Regions from separate parts of the Homo sapiens genome. Here regions 1 and 2 are each linked to region 3. The links are contacts of gene promoters, found by promoter capture Hi-C in blood cells and fetal thymus (Javierre and others, 2016). All regions are on one chromosome and are shown on one strand. Each heading gives the region's core, a stretch centred on a gene start or on the middle of the fragment in contact. The rest is flanking DNA. Distances are from core to core; before and after follow the strand shown.

Region 1 (4,095 bases), core at 1,279-3,778, 180 kb after region 3:
AAACAAACTGTATTAGAGTTGCGTAAGGATGTGTTTAAAGTGTAGGGAGCTATAATAGCGTTCATTTGACTAGATCTATTCCAAATTGGACAGTCTTATGGTGAAGTGTGCTGGGTGGCTTGTGTCTGGGAGGAAATGAAATGTGAGGAACAGAGTGTCGTCTACATATGTATTGATAATATGATTCAGAGAGAAGTCTGGAAAGTAGGTTGGGGGCTTACCTCAGAATTCGTGTCCTTTTACCAGGTTTATTCACTGTTGGCCCCAGAATCCTTTCAGAAACCAAGAAATGAGAATATGTCAAGGGTTAAAGGAGGCTTTCACTTCCAGAAATCAGAAGTAAAATAAAGGCTTTTAGAGCCTGAAATTAGCTTTTTGGAAATGATAGGATTATAAAATCACTGGCAAAAGGGTTTAGAACTTGACTGCCCTATAAAGAGTTCTTCCTCTGTGCCATAGGTGGTCAGAATGGCTTCAACATTCCTCAAGTCACCCCATGCCCAGAAGTAGGAGAGTACTTGAAGATGTCTCTGGAAGACCTGCATTCCTTGGACTCCAGGAGAATCCAAGGCTGTGCACGAAGACTGCTTTGTGATGCATATATGTGCATGTACCAGAGTCCAACAATGAGTTTGTACAAATAACTGGGGTCATCGGGAAAGGCAAAGAAACTGAAGGCAGAGTCCTAACGTTGCATCTTATTCGAGCTGGCAGTTCTGTTCACGTCCATTGCCGGCAATGGATGTCTTTGTGGTGATGATCCTTCAGAAAAGGATGCCTCTGTTTAAAAACAAATTGCTTTTGTGTCCCTGAAGTATTTAATAAGAAGCATTTTGCACTCTAGAAAGTATGTTTGTGTTGGTTTTTTAAGAAGTCTAAATGAAGTTATTAATACCTGAAGCTTTAAGTTAAGTGCATTGATCATATGATATTTTTGGAAGCATACAATTTTAATTGTGGAAGTTTAAAGCCTCTTTTAGTCCATTGAGAATGTAAATAAATGTGTCTTCTTTATGGACCAAGGATATGAAATCATTTTTCTTTTGTAGCTAACGGTTGCCTTGAGGAAGAAATAATTTGGTTTTATTAAGAGTCTACTCTCAATCCAGTTATTAGAGATGTACTGAGTTTGATTTGTTAATCCTTTCTATATACTGCTGATCTTGCATGTCTACAATCTGCTCAGTTTTTCTGTGTTTCTGCAATAGTGGTCAGAAAAATACTTAAATTCCCTTAATGGTGTTGTTTTCTATTTGTTCTGGTTTTGAGATAAATGAGTGATTCTGTCCCCAAATGTCCATTTTTGAAGTGATTTTCCTGGAGGATTAGGGTATTTAGCAGTTGAAGCTCTTCATTCATAGTAGTTACTGTCAGCTAACAGGTTTTTTAAGGCTTTTAACTATTAATATTTTATGGAATGGGGCAAAGTAAATTGATGAAAGAATTGGAGTGATAATAGTCCTTTACAAACATACAGTCCATAAGAAAATGAATTTGGCATATAGAATTATTACAATTTCCTGGGAGAGATGGATATTTAAACCTCTATTATTTTAGACAAGACTGTCTAGAACTTAAGTTTGATCTGTCAGCCAGTACTCCCATTAAATTCAGTGTAGTTTCACTTGATAGAATCAGATATGTTATCGAAATGTTAGCAGCAGCTTCATCCTCCTTCTGATTAAAGTAAGTAGAAATGGGATGTTTTGTTTAATAACAGCCATAGTGTGTGTTTAGACCACAGCGGATGTTGTAGACCAGGACCATAGATGATACATGTCAGTGCTGTGGAATGTGCATTCTCTGAGTGTTGTTTTGTGGTATCATTGTCTTTCCTGAATGACTTTCTAACTGTGCAGAAAGGCAGAAAAGTCATCATATGTATATGTCATATGACTTTATAAAATATTTAATGTGACAAAAAGTGGAAAGAATCTTTACAAACCCTGCAATTACTTTTTTAAAGGCACTTTTACTCTTTGGTTTTATCATTCCATTTTGCTAATATTTACTAGCTTTATAAATTACAGTAAGGTACAAAAACTCATCTTGTAATATTTTCATTTTTGAAGTGAAAAAGTACATATATTTTGCACAAGGTTTTATACTGCTAAGTGCTTGGTTGGGGTGGTGAGATGATGATTAGATCAGGGGTGAGGCTGAGAGACTCTGGGTTTAGGGCTAGCCCTGCCTCCATCTCCCTTGGGTAAAATGAAGGGTGTGGGGTAAAAGATGCATAAGGCCTTTTCTAGCTCTGACAGCCTAGAAGTCCAATCACCCTGTAATAAATATGTGTTGAATGAAGAAATGGGTGAATGAGCTTGTCAATGTGATTTTAAAAAATTGACTACCTGGAGGAATGATTAGGAATCTAAATGAAGCCAGCCCTCGGTATCTGCAGGTTTCTCATCCATGGATTCAACCAACTGCAAATGGAAAATACGATTTTTTTTAAAAAAAGGATGGTTACATCCGTATTGAACATGTACAGACTTTTTTCTTGTCATTATTCTCTGAACAATACAAGAACTCTTTATGTAGCATTTACATTTATTAGGTATTATAAGTAATCTAGAGATTATTTAATTAAAATATACAGGAGGATGTGTGTCAGTTATATGCAAATTCTGTACCATTTTGTATCAGGGAATTGAGCATCTTCAGATGTTGGTATCTGCAGGGATCCTGGAACCAAACCCCTGCAGATACTAAGGGCTGACGATCTAGGTAAGACTGGATTTAACAGTTGGAAAAAAAAAAAAAAAAGGAGAGAGAAGACAGTTCCTTTCCTGTAGAAATTAAAACAAAATACAAATTGAGGAAGCTCTGCTACCCAGGCTGTCATGGTAGAGAACTTGAAGAAGACCTGTTTGGATGGACACCTGGTTTCAAAAGTCAGGTGTGGAGACTGTTAAATGGGAGGGCCTCATCCATAAATGATTTCTGGCAACGTCTTCTTCAGGTGGAGCTTGACGTCTTTTTAATGTTACTTGGGGAGGGAGTGCTCATTAAGGGATGCCAGGGCCAGCTCTGGTGGTTCCTGGGGAGGCTGCGTCCTTCCCTGCTTCTGCATGTCATGAGGCAGCAGGAAGGTTTCCCCTGCACCTGTCTGTCCTGGCTCCCTCTGGGTAGCCCCCTACTGTTCTGTGCTTCAGCACAGCCTGGTTTGTCAAGAGGCACATAGTTGGGGCTGGGCTGCATGGCACAGGGGCTTATGTGCCTGCTGGTTATTTAATTTTCAGCCTTAAGTTTTCTTTAATATTTTCCTGTTGGCTATTTAAAGGTTTTGGTTATCTTTTATTCCTTATCTACAATCAAGATGACAATGTAATTGAATTATCTTATTTATAACACGGTTCGTGATTCATGATTCATGATTACAAGTAGAAAATATGTCATGTTCCTCACCTCCAAATAAATATGTGTGTGTCTGTGTGTGTGTATATATGTATGTGGCGGAGAGGGAGAGAGTGGGGAAGGAGAGCAGTGTTATCATACATAGAGAGGCTAAATGTGTCCCATCCCTCACTGTCAGCTTTATAAAGGAGTTTGACTCCATCCACAGAAGAATGTTTTATAAGACTAGGAAAACACGTTGAAAACTAGGATAAACAGCAACAAAAATCAACTAAATATGTTGTTACTGTTGCTAAGGATTTTCTCCTTAGAATAATTTAGGATTTTTAAAAATTTCTGTTTGCCAAATGCTGTAGATAAATGGCCAGATTCTTCCTATCCCTAGGATTCCTTTATTATTTTTTTTCACAGATTTTGAGAACAAGGGGGAGAGATAGTATGGAAGATTAAGATTCCATTAATCTTATAGAACTGTGTTGTCACCCAAATTCCTGCTTGTTTGAACATGGCATCTTCATAGATTCAGGATTCACTACCCTCTATAGCTGGATCTTGAAAATTATCTGGCCAGATAATTTTGCATCTGCTTGGATGATTGTAGACTGAGATGTGAGTGGAGGATAAAGTATTAGACTTTTGCTGAGTAACTGCCAACCAAGAAGTATTTATCGGACACTTACTAGGTGCCTAGGATTGTATCAGAGGGAATATGAAATGTGTCCCTGCCCTACCTAGTTT
Region 2 (4,116 bases), core at 1,583-4,082, 130 kb before region 3:
TGCCGGTCTCTGATGTGCTCAGCGGAGAGGGTACTCCTCTCTGCAGCTGGTCGTCCAGTCCTGTCCTCTCTCTGCCCTCTTAGTCCTCTGGCCATCCTCTGCCTTGCTCTGGCTGAGCACAGGTCTTTTATAGACCTCAGAGGGGAAGAAATGCATACTGATTGGTTCATGGGCAGAGACAGGGTGGGGAAGGAGCGGGGGCCGGGTGGAAGAGGCACCGTGAGTCCCCACTCCAGTCTGCGGGATTGGCAGCCCGGCTCCTAGCCTTCATGCCCTACCTGGCCTGAAGGTGGGGCCTTACTGAAGACCCCCCCGCTTCCGCCCAGGACCCTGCCTCCGCTTCCATTCAAGGCCCAGGGGCTTGGCCCCAAACCCCCAACGAGATCGGAGCTGGCGCCAGGAGAGGAAAGAGGTCAGGCTGCAGGAAGAGACACCCCCGAGCCAGCAGGGACGGTGTGTGTAGGGGGGCCTTCCAGGTCCCCCAAGGGTGCAGGCTGCAGAGACACCCAGGTCCTGCACCTGGGAGGGCAGCTGAAGCCGCACCTGGGGAGGCGGATCCTGCTGCTCCTGGCCCTCCTCCAAGAGCACAGGGAGGCTCGGAACCACAGCTGCAGTTTGGGCAGCTGTAGCCCCGCCCAGGAGGGTGGGGCTCCTGCCTGCTCCCAGGAGGCCTGGGTCTGCAGCTGCAGTTTGGGTGGCTGCAGCGCACCCAGGGAGCTCCCTTCCCAACTCAGAAGGGGCGGGGCTCCCACTGGCACCATGGAGTGTGCAGCCCCAGCCAGGCAGCCGTCGTGATGGCAGCAGCCACTGCCATCAGCATCTTCCCATGTTCTTATCCCTTCTTATGTAATCGTATATACACATACATATATACTTTCATATTTTTTCTTCTTTTAGAGAGCGGGTCTTGCTCTGTTGCCCAGGCTGGAGTGCAGTGGAGCAATCGTAGCTCACTGCACCCTTGAACTCCTGGGCTCTAGTGATCCTCCTGCCTCAGCCTTCTGAGTAACTGGGACTACCGGTGCACGCCACTATGCCAGGCTAATTTTTAAATTTTTGTAGAGTCGGGGTCTCATTATGTTGGCCAGGCTGGTCTCGACCTCCTAGCCTCAAGCCATCCTCTCACCTCAGCCTCCCAAAGTGCTGGAATCTCAGATGGGAGCCCCCATGCCCAGAAAGTCTTTCTGATCATTGTTTAGAATGCCCGGATGAAACATTATATACGATCTTCTGCATTGTGCTTTTCTTCTCCTACATTTGGCAACCCCGTGGTCCAGGTCTAATTCATTCTTCGTGCTGTCTGTGTAATATTCTTGAGTGTGCTGTGCCATCATTCATTTAGTCATTTCTTACTGAAGGACACTTAGCCTGCACATTAATTAACATGAACCAAGGCTATGCTGTGGCCACCAGGAAACTCTGAAATTGTAGCATCTTAACAAAACAAGGGTGTTGATTTCTTGCTCCTATTGTAATGCAGTATATTTGGGCAGCCCTTGGGTGGTCTCCTCAGAGCTTTCATCTCAGGGATCGAGCTCCTTCCATCTCCATCTTGGGGTCTCGGCAGTTGCCACAGAAGGGGAAGAGAGAGAAGGAGCATGAGGCCGTGGGCTTCATGGCCACACGTCACTTCTTCGCCCCAGTCCCTAGCCAGAACCCAGTCACATGGTTTCAGCCAAACTGCCAGGGAGGCTGGGAAATAAGGTGTTCCCTGTGTGGCCCATCTCTGCCATACTTTGTTTCAAGGTTGCTTTTCTTGTCATTATGAAAATTGATTCAATAAACACCTTTCTTTACTTGTCCTCAGGACATGGTGGTTTCATTTCTATCATATTTCCAGGGTTAGAACTGTTGGGTTAAAGGGAATATTTTAAATGCAAAATTTGTATTTTAAAAGTGAAATTTTTCATGTAACTCCTCAAGCTTTAATTGAAGTTGCCAGATTCCTTCTCAAAAAGTCTGTAACAATTTGCATTTTCAGCAACAACGCATGAGGGTAGCTTTTTCCTAAATCTCTGCCAGCCCTTGTGTTATTGTTCTTTTCAAGTTTCCTCTGTGATATCTCATTGTCAGTTTCATTTGCATTTCTCTGACCACTAATGAGTGTGAGCATCTTTTCATTTGTCCGTGGTCATTTGGCTTCATTCTTTGGTGAATTGCCTATTCATGTCCTTTGCCACAATTTCTTTTGGGTTGCTTGCCCTTTTCTTTTCAATTTGTAAGAGCTCTTTGTATATTATAGATGGTAACCTTTCGTCCACTGCATCACAAATATTTTTCCCCAAATGTATTGTTTGTCTATCACCTTTGCTTATAGTATGTTTGTCTTTCAGAAGATGAACACGTTTGTGAAGCCAAACGTGTCTTTTTTATTTATTTCTTATTTATTTCTTTTCTTTTCTTTTCTTTTCTTTTTTTTTTTTTTTTTTGAGATGGAATCTCTCTCTGTCACCAGGCTGGAGTGCAGTGGCGTGGCGTGATCTTGGCTCACTGCAGCCTCTACCTCCTGGGTTCAAGCGATTCTCCTGCCTTAGCCTCCCAAGTAGCTGGGATTACAGGCACCTGCCACCACGCCCAGCTAATTTTTGTATTTTTTAGTAGAGATGGGGTTTCACCATGTTGGCCAGGCTTGTCTCAAACTCCTGACCTTGGGTGATTCGCCCATGTTGGCCTCCCCAAGTGCTGGGATTACAGGTGTGAGCCACCATGCCTGCCCTATCTCTTTTATTTTTATATGCTGGATTTTCACCCCTGGAGGGTCTCTCCTTACTTGGGTCTTTTAAGAAGCTGCTCTCCATCATGGGCTTTGAACTGTGAGAGGCTTCACTCATAACCTCTCCTGGGTATCTGCTGTCACCCTTGCTACCTGGCCATGTGATGTCCAATGGTCCCAGACCTGATTCCTACAAAACTTTCCACGCATTTGAGAGCTGAGCTATCAAGGTCACACAGAGTGTCAGGGAGGCAAGTATACCCCGGAGGGGCCCTGAGCTTGGAGTCTGAGATCTGAGTACTAGAATTGGCTTTGAGTCACCTGTGTGAGCTTGGCTGAATCACTTGGCCTCTTTGGACCTCAATGGCCTCATCTGAAACATGGGCATAACCCTTGCTCAGCTGACTTCCCGGGGTGCTGTGAATATCAGGTGATACAACAGAGGTCCAGGTACTCTGTACAAGATTTGCAGCCCTGTAAAGATTTTGAGATGCAACAATATTGTGACAACTGACAACTTCTGAGTCTTGACAGTGAGTGACTTTACATGCATGGTCTCATTTAATCCTCAGCAATTCTAGAACATAGGTATCATTACCCTCTTCTTAGAAATAAAGAAACATGGGCTCAGAGTGGGTAAGTTAGATGTCCAAGGTTGCACAGCAAATAGGTGGCAAAGCAAAGATTCCAGAACCTGAGTCACCTCACCCGTAGTGTGTGCGTGTGTGTGTGTGTGTGTGTGTGTGTGTGTGTGTGCGCGCGTGACAGAGAGAGAGAGAGAATAGGGAGCCTGGTGAGAACTTTAGTTTTTTTTTTTTCTTTTTTGAGACAGGGTCTCCCTTTGTTGCCCAGGCTGGAGTGCAGTGGCACAATGACAGCTTATTGCTGTCTCCACTTCCTGGGCTCAAGCGATCCTCCCACGTCAGTCCCCCAAGTAGCTGGAACTACAGGCACATTCCACCACGCCTCATTAATTTTTGTATTTTTTTTGTAGAGATGGGGTTTTGCCATGTTGCCCAGGCTGGTCTCAAGCTTCTGAGCTCAAGTGATCCTCCTGCCTTGGCCTCACAAAGTGCTAGCATTACAGGCATGAGCCACTGGGCCTGGCTGAGGACTTTAGATGTTTTTTTTTTTTTTTTTTTTTTGAGAGAGAGACTATGTGGAGCTTGAAGGTTGATATGAGCAACATGGGACATTTTGCAAAACAACTTAGGTGTTTCCTGAGAGGACTGAAAGCTTTCAAGTGGATAGGGGTGACCTCCAAGCAAAACTGGGGGCACGGAAGGTACACAGAGCATCTGATATAACATTGTACCAGGCAGAAGGAGGCAGGACCAGCGGTGGGGACTGGCCCTTGCACCAAGAGAGTGGAGGATTGGCCATGACAGGTGTTAAGGGCCGTG
Region 3 (4,225 bases), core at 1,638-4,137:
GCATCTTAACCGCCTTAACTGGCCAGCTGGGAGCGGGAGGGATGGGAGATTAAGGCTGGGCTTGGTGGGCCAGGGCTGCAGAGCTCCTTTTGAACTGGGGAAAGAACAAAGTAAACATCAAAAGTCTCAAGCTCTGAGAGCTGGCTGGGCGTGGCAGGGCTGGTGAGGTGAGGCTTTCGTGGGGAGAAGGGGAGAGGGACCCCTCCTCAGCTGACCCAGCTGAGGTCTGAGGACCAGGGAGGGGTGACCCCATGCTCACCTTCAGCGCACACCCAGCCTCCCTGCCCCCACAGCTGGGCAGGACTCCAGGTAGTCGCAGCCTGCGGCTTGGGCCCCACGGGGAGAATGGGTGGCCAGGCCACGTTCCCCTGCATGGCCTCCAGGAGTCACTGTGTCTGAGGGTGCTGCAGCCACTGCTTCATCCCCCTCTCCCATCTCCCTCTCTCCAGGTCCCCCCTGCCTCTCACCTGGTGAACGCTGCCCCCGCCCAGCTTCTTGGCTATCTCTGTGTCTCATCTCTGGGCCTTTGCTCGTTGTCTCTCCGCATCCTCAAGTGCCTGGTTTCTATTTCTCCACTCTCCGGCATCTTTAGGAAGGCTGCTCTGCAGCTTCCCTAAAGGAGATGCTCAGAGCCACTGAAGTCAGGCAGCCCCTCCTCCTCGGGACCAGGCCCAGGCCTCCCAGCTTCCAGGGCAGGCCTTGCTTTGGCCCTGCTGCCCTCTCCCCACTGGCCTGGCGTGCGCATGTGGCAGCCCGTGGGGTGGTCTCTGCTTCCTCAGCCCAAGGGTGGATGTGCCTGGAGTTGGTGGTTCTGCCCAGCAGGGAGCAGTGTTAAGACTGAGGCCTGGTGGGGGCTGAGCAGCACTCGGGGAGCTCGGGGCCTGTTCAGCTCTGCAATGGTCCCTAACTTTGCCTTCCTCATCTCTCCTCCCTTGATTCTGACTTCCTGTGAATTCGCAGCTCAGACCCCATTCCAGCCTGGCTTACCCACACTCACTGTGTGACCTTGGGTGAGTCACTTCCCTGTGGCTCAACTTCCTCACTGGGTTCCTTGTAGCACTTCTTTGCCAGGGTTATTGTGAAGACAATGAGGTGATGGATGTAGGTCGCAAGGGTGGCCCTGGTACAGAGTAAGTGCCCAGCACACTTGAGCTGCCATGATTCTTGTTTCCTGGGTTCAGTTTTCTTGAAGAGGTGTCAGCCCGTGTTTATAATCATTTACCTAGCCCAGATCAAAGAGGACCTCTTTGCAAAGCTTCTTTAATCCTGTTAGAATCTCCAAAGGCCTCCCCGTACTCCTGGTGCCTGGAGTAGGGTCTGGCATGCTGTATGTGCTCAATAAATAAACACTCACTGAAGAAGGAAAGTCAATACCCTGTAGTCACTGAAAGCAGGTGACCTCTCCCTCTGCCTCACTGAAAGCAGGTGACCCCTCCCTCCGGCCTCTCAGGCAGGACCTGTGTACCTGTGTTGGGGCCTGGGCCAGTCTGTCCAGGCTCCCAGGGGTCAGATGTTGGGCAAAGGAACTTGGGAGGCCTGTACTTCCTTTCATCTGTAGTTGGAAAACTGAAGCCCAGAGAGGGAAGTGACCTGTCCAGGGTCACACAGCAGACTGAGAACAGAATCTGGCCCCTCACTCCTCACCATTCAGTATGTGCTGGGCATTTGCTGCAGCTAGGGGCTCTGCTGGGCCCTGGGTTCACAGGCACGAGCAAGGTAGGCAGGCCCAGCAGTCACGACATTCACAGGAGGGAGGCAGGGATGAATACATAAATCTGCGAAGGAGCATGGAAGTTTCTAGTAGTGGTTCTCTGCTAAGACGTAAAACCCAGGGAGAGGTAGAGTGAGGAGGCTTTTCTGAGAAGGTGATGTTTCAGCTGAGATGCAGATGCCAGGAAGGAGCCAGCCATGGAAGAATGTAGGGGGAGAGCAGCTATGAGTGAGCAGAACCCCAGAGTGGAGGGAACTTGGTGTTTGGGGAAGAACAAAAAGGAGGCCGATGTGGCATCAGGAATGAGAGTGGGGTGGTCGGCAAGTGTGGGACCACGCCCTTAGGTTGCGTGGTTCTGCCCAGATGGTTGGGTGGGTGACTGCTGGATTCTGACCTCTGTTTTAAGAAGTTAATTCTGGCTTCTGGGAGGGACTGCCCATGGGCAGGGAGGAAGAGGGCAATGAAACCAGGAGGTGACTGCAGGGTCGCAGGCGAGAGGAGATGGTGCTGGCCTAGCCTGGGAGCTTGGGGCTGGGGAGAGGTCCATGGGGCTGGAGGTTGGAGCTGGTGAGAAGGGGGTTGAGGGAACGAGAGAGATCAGGGATGCATCTTAGACTTTTGGTTTCAGGAACTAAGGATTTGGCGGTGTCACTTCTGAGGTGGAGGTTTTGGCGGGTGACCATCAAGCCTCCCGTTTTTGGACCAGTTGGGTTCAAGATGCCCATTTAACATCCAAGGAGAGGTACCGAGGAGGCCGTGGGATACCTGGTGATTGGAGCTTGGGGTTCAAGGAGCAGTTGGGCAAGAAACAGAGAGAGAGAGCGAGTCAAGACTTCTCAGGAAGTAGCCACGGACATTGCCCGGGACTCTCGGGCAAGGCTCCTCAATACACAGGGCTGGCGGTGGCTTCCCAGGAAGGCTGGGAGGAAGAGGAGTTCATGGGAAGGCAGCAGGGACCCCCAGATGGAGGGGCAGGTGCCCATGCCCCGCCGGCTCCTCTCCCTCAGTTCAGAGCCTGTCCTGTCGGGGGGTGTCAGCGGCCCTGACTCTCCACTCCCCTACAGTCCCCCCAGAAGCTGAGTTGCAGCGGTGACAGAGAACAAGCGGACTTTGTTACCTTGGCAGTTTCTCTCAAGTCTGCTCCTCATAAAAGCTCAGCTGGAACAGTGGAAATTCTGACTTGTGTCAGATACCGGAGAGGCTTTAATAGTTTCAAGTAGCTCGGGGTTAGATTGTAAAAGCCGAATTTCATCACATGTTTTAACTTGGGTGGGGGCGGGCGGGGGAGAGTGGAAGGGACGTGATATTTTTAGCCCACAGAAGGCTTTTTCTCCCCTTTCCCCTTCTCTCCCGGGGCTTCCCCCTCCCTCCCTGAACAGATGTTTCGTCTCAATCCTGTTCAGATGTCAAAGCCGAGTGGCCACCAGCCTTATGCTCTGATGAGGAAAAAAAGGCCAGAATGTTATTTGTTGAGAAGGATTTCCTCCCCTACCCGCTTTTCCCCCTTTTTTGTTTCCCCTCAGTTACAATTGGTCCATAAGCAAAATCTAGTGGCAGTAAAATGCAGCTGGGAGGCAGGATGGTGGAGAAGAAGTCCCTGGTGGCATTTCTGGTCTCAGGAAGGGGCAGACACCCACAGGTGAAAAAGCTGGAAATCACCCTAGAGGGACTGCCCTGGGTGAGTGAATTACTGCTGTGGTGCTGGTGCTGGTGGTTTTTCCTAAAAAGCAGGATCTCAGAGAGACGGATTTGTTAAGTCAGGATTCTTTCGGTTCTTTTGGAAACTCACTTAAACTTTTGGCTCATGAAATTGAAAAATCCTAGGGTAGATCTTGCCTAAAAAGGCCTGTTTGGATTCTGGAGCTAAAACCATGTCATGGACACATGCACGCACACACACACACTCACACACACACGTATACTCACACATTCACACACATGTCTCGCTCGCTGCCCCTCTCTCTCCCTCTCCATCATCTCTCCCTCTGTCCCCTGGTGGCTTCTCCCCCACAGGGGGCAAGGGTGGCAGTTCCCAGCTCTGGGCACTCCCATCCTATGAGCACAGCCCTGTCAGGTGGAAGAAAGTTCCCAGGTCACAGGGGTTCTTGCACATGTTGGACTCACTTTATTGACCACTTTACTGGTCACTTGACCAGGGTAGATCTAGGTTTTATGGGACCTGAAGCTTTCTGGGGCCAAACCAAAATAAATATCTCACCAACTCAGTCTCTCCTTAGCTCATGTCCAGAAATGCCTGTATTTCCCCTAGTATCACCTCACACAGGCAAAGGATGTCAGAATGGTTAGATGACAATCTTAATAGATTGAGGATAAAATGCCTAATTTGGAAAATGTTACAAATACAAACACATATGACCACATAAACACCTTGCAAAGACCCATCCTGACTTGGAAAGGGCCCGTGTAGGTGAGAGGGCCCAGAAGCCTAGCTTCATTAGCTTCTTCATAAACTCTTCTTTCATACTGACCTAGGACCAGCCACGTGGCCTTCAG

The links. Contacts are between HindIII fragments. The CHiCAGO score rates a contact against its expected background, and 5 or more counts as called.
Region 1: a fragment that was not itself captured here is called in contact with the fragment with the promoter of NKD1-AS1 in region 3 in 3 of 17 cell types (neutrophils, non-activated CD4 T cells and activated CD4 T cells); the score reaches 6.2 in neutrophils.
Region 2: a fragment that was not itself captured here is called in contact with the fragment with the promoter of NKD1-AS1 in region 3 in 3 of 17 cell types (naive CD4 T cells, total CD8 T cells and non-activated CD4 T cells); the score reaches 5.8 in naive CD4 T cells.

The regions. Positions count from the first base shown.
Region 1 is chr16:50,795,865-50,799,959 of GRCh38, forward strand. CYLD (CYLD lysine 63 deubiquitinase) reads left to right here. Exons shown (of 19, transcript NM_001378743.1): 19 at 460-4,095. The coding sequence ends at 644. The region is part of intron 2 of CYLD-AS2 (CYLD antisense RNA 2); the gene reads right to left. Among named protein-coding and RNA genes, the nearest start is that of CYLD-AS2, 5.4 kb to the right of the region's middle. The HindIII fragment of the contact is 3,258 bases long and covers 900-4,095 here.
Region 2 is chr16:50,478,324-50,482,439 of GRCh38, forward strand. No RefSeq gene overlaps it. Among named protein-coding and RNA genes, the nearest start is that of NKD1, 68 kb to the right of the region's middle. RefSeq lists an enhancer at 571-1,173. The HindIII fragment of the contact is 1,822 bases long and covers 1,922-3,743 here.
Region 3 is chr16:50,610,763-50,614,987 of GRCh38, forward strand. It overlaps NKD1-AS1 (NKD1 antisense RNA 1), which reads right to left and starts at 2,888. Exons shown (of 3, transcript XR_007065197.1): 1 at 2,829-2,888. The region is part of intron 4 of NKD1 (NKD inhibitor of Wnt signaling pathway 1); the gene reads left to right. RefSeq lists an enhancer at 1-107. The HindIII fragment of the contact is 2,641 bases long and covers 1,254-3,894 here.